Regions from separate parts of the Homo sapiens genome. Here region 1 is linked to region 2. Evidence: promoter capture Hi-C in human tissues and cell types (Jung and others, 2019). All regions are on one chromosome and are shown on one strand. The core of a region is centred on a gene start or on the middle of the fragment in contact, and the rest is flanking DNA. Distances in the headings are between cores, read along the strand shown.

Region 1 (4,477 bases), core at 834-3,333, 60 kb after region 2:
CTGGGATCCATGGGAAAATTCAACCTCATTTCTTTTGTAGCTACAATTGAAACTCTGGGAAAGCTGAATGAGAACACAAAGAACTTTCACTTAAAATAAGACAAATTGCCAATGCTTAACTAATCCTCAAAAGCAGATCTTCCTAAGAATTAAAACGAAATGTCATAGTATGTAATCCACCCAACATATATTATCTGTATATAAAACATTCTTGAAAGAAATTATACTTTTCGTAATAATTATTTTTAATAAATGCAATGCAATGCAAATATATTTCAAATTGGTTCAATCATTCCATCCCCAATGCTATCACCATAGAACAGACCATCTCTTAACTGTTCTAATGCATGGATTAAAAACTTCTGTGCTCTTCTGTGCCTTTCCTCTTTCCATCTCCATATTGTAGTCAAAATGATCCATTCAAAAATGCAAGTCTTATGTTAATTCTCTGCTTAATTTTTAATGTTATTACCTTCAAAAAAATGTGTTACTTTTGTATTCTCCTTTTGAATCCTTGATCCAAATATCTTGCATCTTTACATACTCATCTTCTGAAATAAAAGAAGACATCAGCTTTTGTGCAACAAAATCCTGACTCCTTTCCAAGGCTGTTCAGGCCTTGAATGATAAAGGCCCCTGCCGTTCTGGAACTTGGTCATGCTGTGGCTACACTGGCCAACAATCAGCTCCTCAGAAACACCAAATACCCATTCAGGGCTTTTGTTCCTGTGTTTTCATTTTCCCAGAACACTTTTCCCTGGCTCTTCAAGCGCCGTTCACCCTATGGTTTGTTTTAGATGCTATCATCATCTTTGTTTTACAGATGATGAAACTAAAGCCAGAGAGGTTAAGTAATTTGCTCAAATGCTCATTAATAGCAAATGAGTGGCAGGATTAAAACCCCGGTGATCTAACTCCAGATTCCCGGCTCTTCACTGCATGAGATCTCTGTCTTAGCACCCTTCAGGTCTGGTTCTCAGCCTAAACGTCCGGGTAGTTTTCCCTGTTCCACCGTCTAAAGTAGGTTTAAGAACCACCTTCATCTTCTCATTCTTCGTTTATCTTCTTCTTCATATAATTTATCAAAATTTGTAATTATTTATTATGGTAGTTGTTCAGCTTTTTAAATTGTACACTAAATTATGAGGTTTCTGTGGGCAAGACCAAAATATGCCCAGCACATATACTATCTTTTGAACAGAAGCACTCACTCTACACATTTTTGCTTGAAATAACTAAAACACATGGAGAGGAAGGGTAGTTATTGGATGCCTGTAACTTTTGAAAATGATATAAAGTCTTTAAATTATAATAATTGTTTTTTTCTGATTTTTTACTCTGATAACCATGTTACAAGATTCTATTTCATTCAAACGTATAAAAACAACACCAACCATAAAAACAGTTCTTTGAAACAATGAAGACAAATCAATTATCTTCTATCCTTAGCATTTCTCCCTTTCTCTCCCAAATTCACCTGCTTCCTCTGATTTGCTCTCCTTTTTTCTTTTGCTTCTTGGAATTATTTGCATATAATTAGTTTCCAACACAGTGACATATCAGAAATGTCGTACTCTCAGAATATTTTAGAATGAGGTCTAGGGAGAACCTAAACAAAATGCACCCTTTTATTAAATTGACCTGACAATATTAAGGGGGTGCTTTTGAATGGATAATTCTTTGAAAGCATCAGTTAACAAACAGCACAAAAACACAAGCACAGCAACCCAGCAAGTATGATGTATTATTTAAGAAGGGGTTGAGTGGGGTCTTTATCTGACAAGTCACAGGCAGAAAACACATTCCTGCAAATTGCCCCATTTCTCCTCAAAATGTGTCTGAGGTGAAATGGAGCATCCTTTGTTTCGTACAAAGAAAATAACTCAGGAAAATGACAGTTTAGTGATACATATCCTCATGGTCTAAAAGTCAATGACCTGGAAAAAAAATGATGAAAACTAATTTGTTTTAATGGACAGATAGTATTGTATATTTTTATCATGTACAACATAATGTTTTGAAGCATATATACATTGTGAAACAGTTAACTAGCTAATAGATGCATTACATCACAGAGTTTTTATTTTGTGATAAAAGTACATAACATTCACTCTGTTTACATTTTTTCAAATATAAAATACATATACTTGGAAATTCAAAGGACATATAATTTAAAATATCACATTTATATTCTCTTTAATATTTTCTATTCTTTCAATAAGAAGATAAAGCATAACTACAAGATTTAGCATGGGTAGGGGTAGGGGGAGAAATGAGAAAATGAAGTAGGGAGAAAAGCTATTTCTCTCCCCTATGTGGGGAGAAATAACATTACAAAAAAGAAATAGAAGCTAAAATGCATCATCTTCAATTGTGTGTTATACTAACTCCATAGTTTGAAGTTTGTGCTTATTAGAAATCCTGACATCTGTGAATTTAAGGTAGTTGTCTCTGTTTTTGTCTTAAATGAAAGTCAAAGTTGAATACACTGAACTTTCTGAGGAGCAGCAGAATTTCAAGGGTTCCTTCCTTTAGAAATTATAGGGAGTATCTGAGGACTAACTTGATACTGGAGAAATATTTGCACATTGCTAAAACCTGTTATTCTCTTTTCAACTGGAGCAAGATAGAATTCCCACAGCTAGGTCATTACTATACTTTGACTCCTAAACTCTCATGTTTATACTGTGTCTACATATTTGAGAATTGCAAAAGGTGGGAACAACACTTTCTTCACTGATTTCTATTATTTATTATATACACATATATACACACACACAAATATACATACATATATGTACATATATTTTTAAACAAAATTATGATTAGCATTTTATTTGAAGAGTGCAAAGTACCTAAAAGTCACTAAGACAAAGGTTTGAAGTTGACACTGGATAAAAAGACAACCTTGAAATAATTTTAAAGTTTGCAATTAACACAGATCACAGTGTGGCAAGTAAAAGTTTTAATAGCAGACTGGCCCAGGCCTTGAGGTAAATTATGCATAATTATTCATAACTGCTATTTTTGGCTTGCCTGATTTGTCCTAGACCTCTGGCTGAGGAAACAATTTGAAATAATTAGTGTACTAGTGCATTGACAATGATGAATGAATTGAATACTTCTTGTGCCAAACATAGATCTTGATAGGAAGCAGATAACTTTGACAACTGTGGTATTTTGTTATTAGATCTCTGAAAGTGGAAAGTTTATGTTATTTTTTGTGATTTTTTATAGGGTGTTTCATAAGTCATTCTCTAATGTCCTCAATCATTAATGAGGCTGTGATTAAAAACAAACCAAAAAAAATTTAAAAACAGCATTGATGTTTATTTATACCAAATTTTTACATGTTTAATGTTAAGAGTTTAAACTATGATATTCTAAAAATAACTTCATGGTAATTAAGAGACTTCCTTTCAATTTTAATTTCATGACTAAATTAGAGTTTAGTATATTATATCAAAACTATATTTAAGAAAAATAATACAGATAATTAAACACAATGCTTCTTGAAATAGAGAAGCTTTAAATTTTTCATATGATAATTAGTAATTTTTTCTAAATATTACAAAATGCATATTTGCCTACCTGTTGAGTTCCTATTGCTAGGAAACAAAACCTTCCCTTTACATATGTTAGTATAGAAAATAATTTTCAATGATTAAAATATGCAAATGTATTGAAATTTAAAAATTTAGAAATTCTGGTACACCATCAAAAAATAAAACTAGCAGAAAATTATAGAAAAGTCTCAGAGAGATGTTTTTCCAATTCATTGTACATAAATTATATAAAGCTCCTCTTTTAATTAAGCAAATACTCAGAACACAATATATTCGCATTTTTCAGTAGAATAAACACTAACAATTGTCTGTCTGGAGACAACTGTTCCTTGGCTGGAGGTTTGGACAGACAGGCAATCTTTGTTTTGGTATAAAAGCATCAGCCCATTTAGGTCACCTGAGTGAAAAGAATTAGACTTATTTTTTCTGAAACCATAAAATAATTTAAAAGTATAAAAAGATGAATTCACAGACAACCTTTGGCATCTATAATAATTTTATCACTGCTAATTATACATGTTTTTTTTTCTAATTTTAAAAGGTTAGTTAGGGCATCCACATTTGCAGTAAAATTTTTTTATAGATATTGTACATATTTTTCAGACCGAAATTATAAACATTTATATTACACAGGCACATAGTAGTTGGGTCTTAGCTGTGCTTCTGAAATACAGCATCTAATCAATGTTCTCATTCTCTGTTACTTATAACCATGACAAAATTATTTAAATGATTCTTGCTTTTCATGTATAGAATAAACTGCAATCTTAAATAAACTGCTAATAAAATATATCAACTTGTTTGATAACTGTTATATATAAACTATTATTTTATGTAACTCTTACCCATAATGAAGAGATAAAAAATCACACAGGTGACCATACAGTGTTTTTGTGTATATTTTCAGATAT
Region 2 (4,538 bases), core at 247-2,746:
ACAGACTTGGCACTTGAGGATTGCGCAGCCTCTGGTGACACAATGTGGAAAGAAGTTAGAGACACAAAGTAACATGGCATACACAGAAAAGTGAGAAGGATCTCTCTTTTCCCCTGGCTGCTTCTATCCACCCCAATTCCCCACCCCAGTCATCAAACTATTATCTGGCACCATTAACTTAAATTCAAGTGAAAATTGTGTTCTCTAACTAAAAACATTGAGTTTGTGGACTGAATACATTATTAGCAAGGGCTTTTCAAACTTTCATTTAAGTTTCATTATCAAGAGCTCTAAAATTGATCACTGATCTTAAGATTATCAACATACCTTTATTTTCTGAAGTTGTGAGAGGAATATAATAATCTTGTTTTCTTTTTAGTATAAGAAGAGATAGATGGGCGGAAGGATATCTGAGTAACCATTTTCTGGGAGATATTTTAAAGATAAGTGATGCTGGTTATTAAAATATAAATTACAAAATTGTTTGGCTGAACTAGATTGCAATAGGTTGTTCAGCAATGGGATTGGAAATAACAGAGACCATTGATAGTCATGGTGTAAAATAAGTGAGAAAGTACGAGGACATTATTATTTAGCTTTTGGATTTGGAATGTTAAAGAATAAGAATACCCCAATATTATTAGACTATCAGTGGTTGAAAGTTGAATGGAGGAGCTGTGAATTATGCATTGTTTCTCTTGCAGAACCCAGAGATCCTAATGTGAGATGGTGAGGGAGGGGGATATGTATTATTAAGAAATTTAGGTTTGATCTGTATTACTTTTACAACACAGAACGAGAAAAGAATGTAGACCTCCGGCTGGGGTTAGACTTGCTCCCTTCCGTAAGATGATGAAGGTCAACTTCCCTGTTTGAAAAAAAACAAAGTATGCTCTATGTGCGCGGAAAATCACTGTGCCAGATCTAGTAAAAAGCCACGATACCATTGGGTGTGGAAATGCAGAGACCCTCTGATTCAGGCTGTGTATTAGTGTCTTTCTGAATCACAAAGAACTCATGGAGAGTTATGATCACATTGAACACAGTAAAGGAATAACTATAATCATTTTTTTCAATTATACAAACATGATTGACTTTTTAACGAAAGACTGCTATTCTTTCAAAACACACGTTTCTCTCGCATTTCAGTTCCTTTTGCACTCACATTGCCATATGATACTCCTATCAAGGCTGTGATTTCTTCGGTGAATTAAGCAACAGAGCATGGATAGCAAACAATAAAACAGCTACTTTTCATGCAACACAAAAGAGGGAGCATTTTTCTCAGCACCGCGGCCTCATCACATCTTCTGTGTTTCCTGTCCCATGGGCGACGCCCCCACTCCCACCCGGTCTCCTTCCCGAGCAGCTCTGGGCTGCAGAGCCAGCTGCGTGCCATCCCGCTCTGCTTCAGCGCACGCTGAAGACGGCACTAGGACCCAGGGAAGTCCCCGAGCGGGGTTCGCGGAAAGGCAGCCAGACTCCTCCTTATCTCCAGTGTCAAACTTGACATCAGCCTGCGAGCGGAGCATGGTAACTTCTCCAGCAATCAGAGCGCTCCCCCTCACATCAGTGGCATGCTTCATGGAGATATGCTCCTCTCACTGCCCTCTGCACCAGCAACATGGATTGTCAGCTCTCCATCCTCCTCCTTCTCAGCTGCTCTGTTCTCGACAGCTTCGGGGAACTGATTCCGCAGCCTTCCAATGAAGGTAAGCCAGGTACCGCGACGCACGGAGCTCTGCCCCGCGGGGCTCACGCTCTTCAAAGCACGTTCTCACCGAAGCCTTGCACGTCGGGAAGGTGCCTCCGAATAGAGCAGTTTGCTCTGAGAGTGAAGGAAAGATGTGCCTTTTTTTTTTCCAACTGTCTTCTAAAACACTTCAGGAGATAATTTTAGATGGTCTAAACTTTGAAAATGTGTTTTTAATCTGACACCATTTCGAGCAATTACCTTGTTTGCCAATTTGAGCAGAAAGAAAGAAAGAAAATCCTCCAGCGTTGCAACCCAGTTATGTTAATTGCCAAATAGCCAAGGCAGTATTTTATTTTCTAATTATGACCATGTGGTACTCCGAGAAGTTTGAAAGAAAATTCAGCCTTCCTCTCTAGACTCTTTAGTATGTTTAAAGGTAATGACAGGTTGTTCCTACTTGGGATCATGGCATTTATGAATGGACTAAAGGGAAATCAGAGTTTGTCGAAGCGGAGGTGCGTGTTTATGGTGCAAGGGCTGTGTTGAAGTTGTGTGTATCCCGCCAGGCAATGGTTTGCTCTATGGTACAGGTTCTAAAGAGCAGCATATGCCACATTAACGTAAGTAATATTTGCAAGAATTACAATAAGCTTAGGTTGGATTCTCTTTGTTTAAAGGCTTATATACAAATAGGAGAATGTATTTAATGAATAGTGGATAGCTCCTGGGAAGATATAGTAAATAACTGAATAGTAGATTAAGAGAGAATGTTCATATGCAGCAAATGGCATTTCCTTGATGTTGTGTTATTTATTATCCTTGTAATGAGCATTAATTCCTTTTCAGTGGGTTAAAGTGCAAACCTAATGTTAAGGACACCAATGTGTTCTATAAGATTGTGTACTTAATACATACATTTTCTTTCTCCTGTATTCCTTTTGTGATCTATTCTTGTGAATACAGTCACTAACTCGTAAAACAAACTTCTCTAAATAATTGATTAGTGTAAAGCCACACTTACAACATTAATTTCCTCTTAGTGATTTTGAACTTATAACAGTAACATTTAGCAATTTATTTTGCAAGTTAACAATACCGAGCAACTGATGTGCAAACATCATGTTATATACATCACTCCTTAGAAAATATATTGTCAAGCCAATACTGTTGTATATGTACCTTAATTTTAAAAACACGAGTAAAAACAAAATACTTAGAAAGTTTTTTATTAAATGTAATAACTGCCTGATACTCGGTGACCTACTTTCACTGCTAATAGAGCAGTAATTTATCTCCTTCCTTACTGACTGCCTTTATCAATTTGGCAGTTTTCATTAAATGTTCTGAATCTTTTTTCTAAATAAGAAAATGAAAATTCTAAAATATAAGGATCAAGAAAATTATCTTACCCACAAATGACTTTTTATTTTACAAACCAAATTAAAATGTTTATTTGAAAGTAAGAGTCAATCATTCTTCCTGAATGAAAGGTAAGAGTATTCATTTGTATAACGGGTAACATGTATAATAGGTAACATATCAATAAATTAAACTTAATGTTTTAAAAATTTTTGTTCTTTGCAGATATTAAAATATTGACAATAACTAGAAAAATAGTATTAAAATTCCCACATTGTCATGATAAATTATATTTTCCAGATAGAATGGTTATGAACTATGTAGATATGGATATTACTGAATTAATTATGCACAAGAATGTAGCTGTTAGTCAGTATTTTTGTGGAAAACAACCTTTAAGTAAACTGCAAGAGAAAAAAAAAGACACCAAACTATTTCACACCTATGTAAAATTAATCAGTATTAATTTAATGAAACAGAGTTAATCAAATACAAATTGCTTTTAAGCCTCACCTCATGTATGTTTGGGGATATAATGTATATAATTATACAGACAGGTACACATTAACCATATGGATATAGAAAGGTAAATATATTCAGAAAGCTGACATAATTGCATTTAATTTGCTTGGATGAAAGTTTATCCATCATTCATGGGATTATTCCTTCCAGATTGTGTCCTATGGGTAGTGTCTCTTTTCCTTCCTGTGATTGTGAAGGGAAGCTTTAAAACAAATTTAAGATGATTTAACTTAGGTAATACTTGAGTGAGATTTTAAATATTATCCATAGCTGGGCTCTCAGTTGAGTTGAATAACATGAAAAGTGAAAATGCCAAGTATGTGCCAAGATTTCCGTGCAATTTTTCTAACAATGTAATTTAAATAGAAAGCAATTCTTTTGAAAATGTATATATGAGAGGAGTGGTGATTTAAAAATGGTATTAATGTAGTTTTCTGATATAATTTTTTAATTTTGAAATATGAAATACTAGACTGTATTTAAAATATTATGATTGAAATATTTCAACACTGTAAAAAATTTATGAGAAATTTACTGAAACATATTTACTAGAATATATTCTTCAATCTGTTATGAAGTTAGGCATTTGAGAACCAAAGAGAACAAAACCAGGCCATTGACTTAATTGCTAGGACATTTGCAGTTGTGTGATGTGTTTTTTAATTTAAGATTTAATCATTAAACATCAATATTGAAATGCCATGGGTCCCTGATAAGAAAAATAACTTAGAAAATGTTTAATCTGAATTTTCCTTCTATTAATGTATTTACAAATATCTCTCTTATATGCTTTCAAGAAAATGACTCCAGGTGATAATAGGGACTCATCAACGATAACAGATATTCATAATTCCAATGATCACTTGACTCAGCAATTGGCCTATATACTTAAACAGAACTTTATAAAAACTTTATTAAATTCTTATCAGGTCTCTCTGTTTACATGGCTTAAGAAAAGACT

The links. Contacts are between HindIII fragments. The study calls those that stand out against the background at their distance.
Region 1: a fragment that was not itself captured here is called in contact with the fragment with the promoter of EPHA3 in region 2 in 3 of the 25 tissues and cell types used here (dorsolateral prefrontal cortex, hippocampus and mesenchymal stem cells).

What each region holds. Positions count from the first base shown.
Region 1 is chr3:89,165,159-89,169,635 of GRCh38, forward strand. The region is part of intron 2 of EPHA3 (EPH receptor A3); the gene reads left to right. Among named protein-coding and RNA genes, the nearest start is that of EPHA3, 60 kb to the left of the region's middle. RefSeq lists an enhancer at 247-1,107. The HindIII fragment of the contact is 6,689 bases long and covers 1-4,477 here.
Region 2 is chr3:89,106,125-89,110,662 of GRCh38, forward strand. It overlaps EPHA3 (EPH receptor A3), which reads left to right and starts at 1,497. Exons shown (of 17, transcript NM_005233.6): 1 at 1,497-1,712. The coding sequence starts at 1,625. RefSeq lists an enhancer at 1,339-1,478. The HindIII fragment of the contact is 4,313 bases long and covers 1-3,062 here.